Regions from separate parts of the Homo sapiens genome. Here all the other regions are linked to region 3. The links are contacts of gene promoters, found by promoter capture Hi-C in blood cells and fetal thymus (Javierre and others, 2016). All regions are on one chromosome and are shown on one strand. Each heading gives the region's core, a stretch centred on a gene start or on the middle of the fragment in contact. The rest is flanking DNA. Distances are from core to core; before and after follow the strand shown. Region 1 overlaps N4BP2 (NEDD4 binding protein 2). Region 2 overlaps N4BP2 (NEDD4 binding protein 2). Region 3 holds the start of RBM47-AS1 (RBM47 antisense RNA 1).

Evidence for each region. Contacts are between HindIII fragments. The CHiCAGO score rates a contact against its expected background, and 5 or more counts as called.
Region 1: a fragment that was not itself captured here is called in contact with the fragment with the promoter of RBM47-AS1 in region 3 in 1 of 17 cell types (naive B cells); the score reaches 5.5 in naive B cells.
Region 2: a fragment that was not itself captured here is called in contact with the fragment with the promoter of RBM47-AS1 in region 3 in 1 of 17 cell types (M1 macrophages); the score reaches 7.0 in M1 macrophages.

Annotation. Positions count from the first base shown.
Region 1 is chr4:40,109,380-40,112,079 of GRCh38, forward strand. The region is part of intron 5 of N4BP2 (NEDD4 binding protein 2); the gene reads left to right. Among named protein-coding and RNA genes, the nearest start is that of N4BP2, 54 kb to the left of the region's middle. The HindIII fragment of the contact is 1,031 bases long and covers 744-1,774 here.
Region 2 is chr4:40,152,679-40,155,378 of GRCh38, forward strand. N4BP2 (NEDD4 binding protein 2) reads left to right here. Exons shown (of 18, transcript NM_018177.6): 17 at 102-225; 18 at 1,514-2,700. The coding sequence ends at 1,559. Among named protein-coding and RNA genes, the nearest start is that of RHOH, 43 kb to the right of the region's middle. The HindIII fragment of the contact is 3,367 bases long and covers 1-2,700 here.
Region 3 is chr4:40,424,840-40,427,539 of GRCh38, forward strand. It overlaps RBM47-AS1 (RBM47 antisense RNA 1), which reads left to right and starts at 1,294. Exons shown (of 2, transcript NR_199039.1): 1 at 1,294-1,343; 2 at 1,949-2,700. It overlaps RBM47 (RNA binding motif protein 47), which reads right to left. Exons shown (of 7, transcript NM_001098634.2): 7 at 1-1,304. The coding sequence ends at 1,065. RefSeq lists an enhancer at 583-1,782. The HindIII fragment of the contact is 3,876 bases long and covers 1-2,389 here.

The sequences.
Region 1 (2,700 bases), core at 9-2,508, 320 kb before region 3:
TACTTAACTCCCAGGATTGTTGTGAAAGTTAAATGAAGGTGAAAAGTGTTAACATTGGCTGGGCGCGGTGGCTCATGCCTGTAATTCCAGCACTTTGGGAGGCTTAGGCAGATGGATCACCTGAGGTCAGGAGTTTGAGACCACCCTGGCTAACATGGCGTTACCCCATCTCTACTAAAAATACAAAAATTAACCGGGCATGGTGGTGCACACCTATAGTCCCAGCTACTTGAGAGGCTGAGGCAGGAGAATTGCTTGAACCTGGGAGGCGGAGGTTTCAGTGAGTCAGGATCCCACTACTGCACTCCAGCCTGGGTGACAGAGCAAGACTCTGTCTCAAAAAAAAAAAAAGTGTTAGCATGGTTCAGCATGCCCTTATAACAGCAACAATAATATATGTTAATAGGCGGAATTCATTTTAAAACTGCTTTGTTAAGACAAAATTCATGTGCCATACAAATCATCCATTTAAATTGTATAATTCAGTAGTTTTTAGAACTTAATATTCAGGGCTGTGCATTCGTTAATACACTCTATTTAATTTGGCTTTGCTGCAACTTTTAGAACACGCTAAATTTTAGAACATTTTTATCATCTCAGAAAGATTCTGTACCTATTAGCAGTCACTCTTCATTTCTTTCCAGTCTGTGTTTTGTCCCTATAGATAATTTGCCTATTCCAGACATTTCCTACAACATGTGGACTTTTGTGATTGGCTTCTTTCACTTAGTATAATGTTTTCAAGCTTCATCCATGTTGTAGCATGTGTTTCATTCCTTTATATGGATGAGTAAGATTCCACTGGGTGGATATATCACATTTTATTAATCTATTCATCAGTTAATAGACATTTGAGTTGTTTTCACTTTTTGGCTATTAAGAACAGTGCTGCTATAAACAAACACACATGTCTATGTCTAACCTTTTTAGGAACTGCCATGCTGTTTTCCAAAGCAATCATACCTTTTTATGTTTCCTCTAATAATTTATGAGGGTTTCAACTTTTCTACATCCTCACCAACACTTGTTATTGTCCGTTTTTTTGATTATTCCTATTCTGGTAGGTGTGAAGTGGTATCTCACTGTGGTTTCAATTTGCTTTTCTCTGATGGCTAATGATGTGGAACATCTTTTTGTGTGTTTTTTGGCCATTTGTATATCTTCTCTGGAGAAATGTCTATTCATATTTGCTCTGTCACTTAGACTGGAGTGCAGTGGCACGATCTTGGCTCATTGCAACCTCCGCCTCCTGGGTTCAAGTGATTCTTGTGCCTCAGCCTCCTGAGTAGCTGGGATTACAGGTGCAAGCCACTACGCCCGGCTAATTTTTGTATTTTTAGTAGAGACGGGGTTTCACTGTGTTGGCCAGGATGGTCTCGAACTCCTAACCTCAGGTGATCCGCCCGCCTCAGTATCCCAAAGTGCTGAGATCATAGGTGTGAGGTACCGTGCCCAGCCTCCTTTGCCCATTTTTAAATTGGTTCTTTGTTTCTTCATTAGTGAGTTGTTAGAGACTGGGCAGAACTTTGAAAACTTCCAAATAAATTACTTGTAAGACTTACTTGTTGTGGTACATCATTAATTTCCTGTATGGTCTAATTCCTTTGGAAGAAAGGTAAGAAAATCCCTTGTGCAATGGTGTATTATAATGTTTTCTTTATTTCAGATCATTACATTGTGTGTGTGTATATTTGTCCATTTGTTTTTGTTGTTTGTTTTTAAACTTTATTTTTGAATATTAGATATATGGAAAAGTTGCAGAGATACTATGGAAAGCTTCTGTATACCCTTCACTCATTTATCCTTCATGTTAACATCTAATATAACGAGGATACATTTGTCAAAACTAAGAAATTGGTTTATTATTATTAACTAAACTCAAGACTATAGTTTGATTTTAATTTTTCTACTCAAGGTCTTTCTCTCTTACTTGACAGTCTTAATATGTGGGGTTTTTTTGAGACGGAGTCTTACTCTGTCACCCAGGCTGGAGTACAATGGCGTGGTCTCAGCTCACTGCAACCTCCGCATACCGGGTTCAAGTGATTCTGCTGTCTCAGCCTCCCAAGTAGTTGGGACTACAGGTGCGTGCCACCACACCTGGCTAATTTTTGTATTTTTAGTGGAGACGGGGTTTCAATATGTTGGCCAGGTTGGTCTCGAACTCCTGACCTCATGATCCGCCTGACTTGGCCTCCCAAAGTGCTGGGATTACAGGCATGAGCCACCGCGCCCGGCCTTGTTTTGTATTTTTTAGGCAGAGTCTTACTCTGTTGCCCAGGCTGGAGTGCAGTGGCCTGATCTTGGCTCACTGCAACATCTGCCTCCTGGTTTCAAGTGATTCTCTTACCTCAGCCTCCTGAGTAGCTGGGACTACAGGTGGGCACCACCACACCCAAATAATTTTTGTATTTTTAGTAGAGATGGGCTTTCACCATGTTGGCCAGGCTGGTCTTGAACTCCTGGCCTCAAGTGGTCTGCCCGCTTTGGCTTCCCAAAGTGCTGGGATTATGGGCATGAGCCACCATGCCCAGCCAACCCATACTTACTTAATTTTTATGTCCTCAAAGGGATATTTAGAAGTTGAGCAGTGAGTAAAATTAGCACATCATGATTTTCAAATTATGAAAAGATCAGATTTTTTGAAAATCATAATACTTAGTATTGTTTAAAAAATGATTTTTAATTATGTTATGTTTT
Region 2 (2,700 bases), core at 93-2,592, 270 kb before region 3:
TCATGAAAACAATTTCATGTGCTTGAGTAGCTAAGGTTTACGTTTTCTATTGAGAATGTAAGATAAATGAATTTTAACTCCCCTGATTTCTGTTGTAACAGAATTTAAGCAGAACGGTGGGAAGCCCTATTTGTCTGTGATTACGGGGAGAGGAAACCACAGCCAGGGAGGAGTTGCTCGCATCAAACCAGCTGTCATTAAGTACCTCATAAGCCATAGCTTCAGGTGAGTGTAGATTTCTGTTATTAATAATGGCAACTGCCCATATAGATCTTTATCAGATATTTCTGTGAGTATAGATTTCTGTTATTGATAATAGCAATAGCCCTAATATAGCTAGGTAAATAAACACTAATAGCGTACTCAGAACAATCTGTTAAAATAGTTAACTAAATTTAATCATCTGATTTCAGCCACAGATTCATGCTTAAATTATGATATAACTTTCCCTGCTGGATTTATGTTGTCTGGTAAACCAGAAATAAGGAAAAATGTGTTTGTTGCCAATAATCATCTGATAAAACTTTCTATCATAAATTTAAAGTTCTAAAAGAAAGTAAATATATTTGTTTCTTTGATAATATGCAAAATAATTAGGTAATATGTATCATACTTTAAGATTTGCTATTATTCTTTTGAAAGGAAATCAGTATTTGTGGATTTTGGATGGAATTGGGTGGCTTCTATTGAAATATAGTTATAATTTAGGTACGTTTAAACTTTAGCAGAAATGTTCAGTTAATATGAATTTATTTGTGTTTTCATAAGTTAAATGCCATTAATGACCTGTGTTGACAAACATGAAATGTTCTTTTTCATTAAGTGATAATTATTTAATAACAGAAAATGACAAGAAAGTCAAAGATGAAATATCTGTTGATGGATAGATTTCCTGCAGATGTGTATCATTAACTCCTACCCACCAATTTCAGTGTAGCATATTTATTTTATGCCATGTAATAAGATGTTATTTGGCTACATTATCGAAAATGATAGCATAAGTTATGAGCATAAAACAGGTGACATCAGGGTTATTTTTATAAAAGGAGTAGTTAGACCAGAACATTATGTTGAGATTAATTATCTATTTTAGAGACTAGTCTTCCTTTAAATTCTCTCCGGATAGAGTTGAAAGCATTGCATGGCCAGATTAATCAGACTTACCTGATATATCAGAGATTTCTTCTTGGTGCTTTCATGATGCACCAAGGACTTTATTCTTCCTACAGCATACTCTTTTTCATAAAGGTAAAATTCAGGCCTCACAGGTTTTGACAAATCTTAAGTTATACTAAGTCAAGAGCAACCTCCAGCTTTAAGATTGTATTTGTTTTGACCGTAGATAAAAGGAACACAAACCTAGATGTTGGTCTTGGATATTGACTTAATAAGGGTCAATACTTTGGTAGTAAATATTATATTAAGCGTAGGTACTTGGAATTGATTACAAGGTATATTCCTTAGCTAATTTGAAATTTTCATCTTTAAAATAACTCTTTTCTCATTTCTGCAGGTTCTCTGAAATTAAACCAGGGTGCTTGAAAGTCATGCTAAAGTAAAATAAACATCCTTGAATTAGAAGTATGAAGGTTTGTAGGTTAAAATTACTTTTATTTGCAGTAATTCAGTCAATTCTACCCTAAAGATGTGTTTTATTATAAATAATATTCAATTATGAAACAAAAAAATTATGATGTTTTTCAAAATGCAAGTGAGGTTTGATTTTTTACTGAATCAAATGCAAATGTTACCTGTTAAAGATATTACAGAGAAATTTTATTGATTACAAAATATGTAAGAAAATTATCAGCTACAGTTTTAAAGTTTAAAATGCTCTGATTGTTTCTCAGAAAAGGTTACCTTTGTATTAATTGTTGTATGACATTTAGTAATGTCCTAAAAGTCTTTTGTGAGAGGTATTTAAAGTGCTTTGAGACCTGATTCATGCCCCCCAAAGGGTGGTATTAAAAGAGGAAAAAGGACATAGTAGTGGTAGTAAAGAAAAAAAGGAGATCTAACAAAAACACTTGAATATTTTTTATTTTCAAAACTAAACACATAAAATGCTTTTATTTTGCCATATCCTACAGGAAGGAAGACATGCTTTTGCCCTTTCTTCTGCTTTGTATATGACCTTGATCTTTTACCTTTTGTTCTGTTCTTCTGTGTGCATTTTATGGAAAGAAAGTTGGGTCTGAGATTATATTGTAATTTTATACTTTCTATAGACAGAAAGGTTTTCAGAGAAAAAGAAATGGTTAAATATCTTCCAGATGTTGCTGCCTTATCGAAATGCTTCTAGAACTGTCTGTATAAGTCGTATTTCAGACAGTACTAAATACTTATATTTTATTTTTGAGGCATGTAATTTTAAAACTGCAGTAGGTTAAAATTCTATTAAACAAATATAGAAAATATTTTGTTTATAATTGGCCTGGTGTGGTGGCCCACGCCTGTAATCCCAGCACTTTGGGAGGCCGAGGTAGGTGGATCGCCTGAGGTCAGAAGTTCAAGACCAGCCTGGCCAACATGGTGAATCCCCGTCTCTATTAAAAATACAAAAATTAGCTGGGTGTGGTGGCGTGTGCCTGTAATCCCAGCTACTTGGGAGGCTGAGGCAGGAGAACCGCTTAAACCTGGGAGGTGGAGGTTGCAGTGACCCGAGATCGAGATCACACCACTGCACTCAGCCTGGGTGAC
Region 3 (2,700 bases), core at 44-2,543:
AGCATTAGAAATGGCATTAAAGTTTTACATTGGGCAATTAAATAGCTATGCAAAGGTGTCTTATGCAACTCGATTAAAACCTTGTGCTTACTCTGCTACTGAAAATAGCACACGTAGAAGACAATACTTCCCCAACCAAACAAAAAAAAAAACAAAAAACAACGAAACAACAAACCCCAACAAAAACCCAGGAAGAAGTATAAAAGCCACCAGCTCCTCTATCAGAGCTACTTATCAGTCCTAGGCTTGCCAAACATTGCGGTGGGATTGGGAATCTGGGGAGGAGGGGACAGGGTGAGAGATGTGGGAGTGGGGGCATGTTTAAGGCTAAGGCACATGGAGAATGAGCCCCGGCTAACGGTGGCAAAGGAGAGCTTTCCAGTGTTTGGACTCAGAAGTGCGGCAAGTCTTTTCAATGTTGGCTTAAGGAGAGATCCAGTGTTTAATTTCTTTTAAAAAATAGTACCGCCATGATGATACATGGTAACACCATCAACCCTTAATGCCAGCAGAAATACAGAGGTTTTACTCATTTTAAAATTGCACTTTCCAGTATAACCTTTAAAATAATGCTTTATGTAGTATTTTTAAGCACTACTGTTTGTATCTTTAAATATTGTATATATTTTTCAAAATAGTTCCCTAGCTCCTCAAGTGTGCTTTTTTAATATATAGTTGATATATTATTGAAGGTACTACAAAATAGAAATCTCTGGAGTGCAGAAGTTAAGAAAATAACCTTCATACTGAAAATATATCCTTAAAAAAACAACAACAAAAACCTCTATACAAATGTAGTACAGCATACAAATTTTTAAAAGATGGAATGAAGGCACGAACCATTGCAAGTCTTTTGGAAATGTATGAACGTAGGCATGCTAAGTTGAAAATAGTCTTAAAAAACTAGTGAAAACTTCATGTATATAAAATAATTCAGAAATAAATCTGCTAACATTCTTCACTTTCAGGTTGCATGTGTGAATCCAACATGTTCCTTCTTCATAAATAGTCAAGCGTTCCTTCAGTGGTGTTTGTGTGGTCTGTCTTCGTGCTGGTCACCAGCCTCAGTATGTCTGGTAGACGTCGGGGATGGGGACCTGAATGGCAGCAGCAGGGAAGGCCTGAGGTATGTAGCCTGCGTATCCTCCATACATGGCGGCCGCGGCTGCCGCGTTCTTCTGTAGTGTGGCGATCGTGGCTGTAGCTGGAGCAGCAAATGGCACGTAACTGGCCCCGTAGATCCCGGCAGTAGGAATTCTCTGAACGTTTGGAGCCACCGTGTATACTGGAGTTATTGGGCGGCCCTGAGGAGAAGAGACAAAAAGGAGCCTTCCTGAACACGTGTATGTACCTATCATCCATTCATTCAACAAGCCTCTCCCAGAAGACGGGAATACAAAGACACAAAAGCAAGGGAGAGAAAGGCAGAGGGGCGGGCAAACAGCAATTATTGTAAGCAAGTGGGAGAAGAGCCACTGAAGAGGTAAGGTGGAGCTGCATCCTCAAACTCAGTGATGCCACCTTGTGAAAGTGAGAGGCCTGGAAGGCTGAGGGAAAGGTGAAATACAGTTGCCCCTCAGTATCCTCACAGGTGATTGGCTCTAGGACCTCCGTGGATACCAAAATCCTCAGATGCTCGAGTCCCTGAGAGAAAATGGCGTATTTGCATTTAACCTATGCACATCCTCCTGTATACTGTAAAAAAATTTTTTTTCATAGAGACAAGGTCTCACTATGTTGCCCAGGGCTGGTCTTGAACTCCTGGCCTCAAGCAATCCTCCTGTCTCAGCCTCCCAAAGTCTTGGGACCCATACACTTTAAAAATAATCTCTAGATCACTTATAATACCTAATATGATGCAAATGTTATGTAAATAGTTGTTATATCGTATTTTGACATTTGTATTTTTTTATTGTTGTATTGTTATTTTTTATTGTCTTTATTCAAGCCACGGTTGGTTGAATCCAGATGCAGAAACTGCGGATAAGGAGGACCTTCTCTGTACTGTATTCCGGAATCTTCTACTTACCATTCCACTCAATCAGTCTATGCCCCAGAGTGAGCTAGAGAAGGCAGCGGAGAATCTACCATCCACACAATTGATTTCACAGTAATTAAAAATCAGTGTTTTTCCTTAAACATGGCCTCTAGATACATGCCAGCTGCCTCAACTCATACTTAACTGATGGAATATGATCTGTCTCAGAGACAGAGAGAGGAACAGACTGTGTCAACTTAGAGAAACCAAATATACTGATCTCCAAAGGGACAGCTTCTTAAGCTGTGACCTTAAAAAATTGTGACCATACACAATTTTCAGCCAATGTGATGGTTTCCATCACCTCCCACCTAAGAGATGACACCATTAATGTATACAAATTGTTGTAGAAGCTTAGAGAAAGAACCAACTAATGGGGAAGTTGGAGAAAATGTCTCAGCAGCGGGGATATTCGAGCTGAGTTTTGAAGGATAAAGAGCAGTTTCCAAATGAGGAAGAAGTGGGCAAGGACAAGCTAAGTAAAGTTGCCTGAACTGTTGACGGCCACCACTGGCTCTAGAAAAGCCCCTGCTACTTCCTTCTGTCTACTTGAAAGTGCAACATAAGATGTTTTCAGAACAAACAGGAGTATGAATGGGAAGACTGTGGTTCAGTATTTCCCAAAGTGTTTGCCATGGAACTAGTTCTGTGAGATGCTTCAT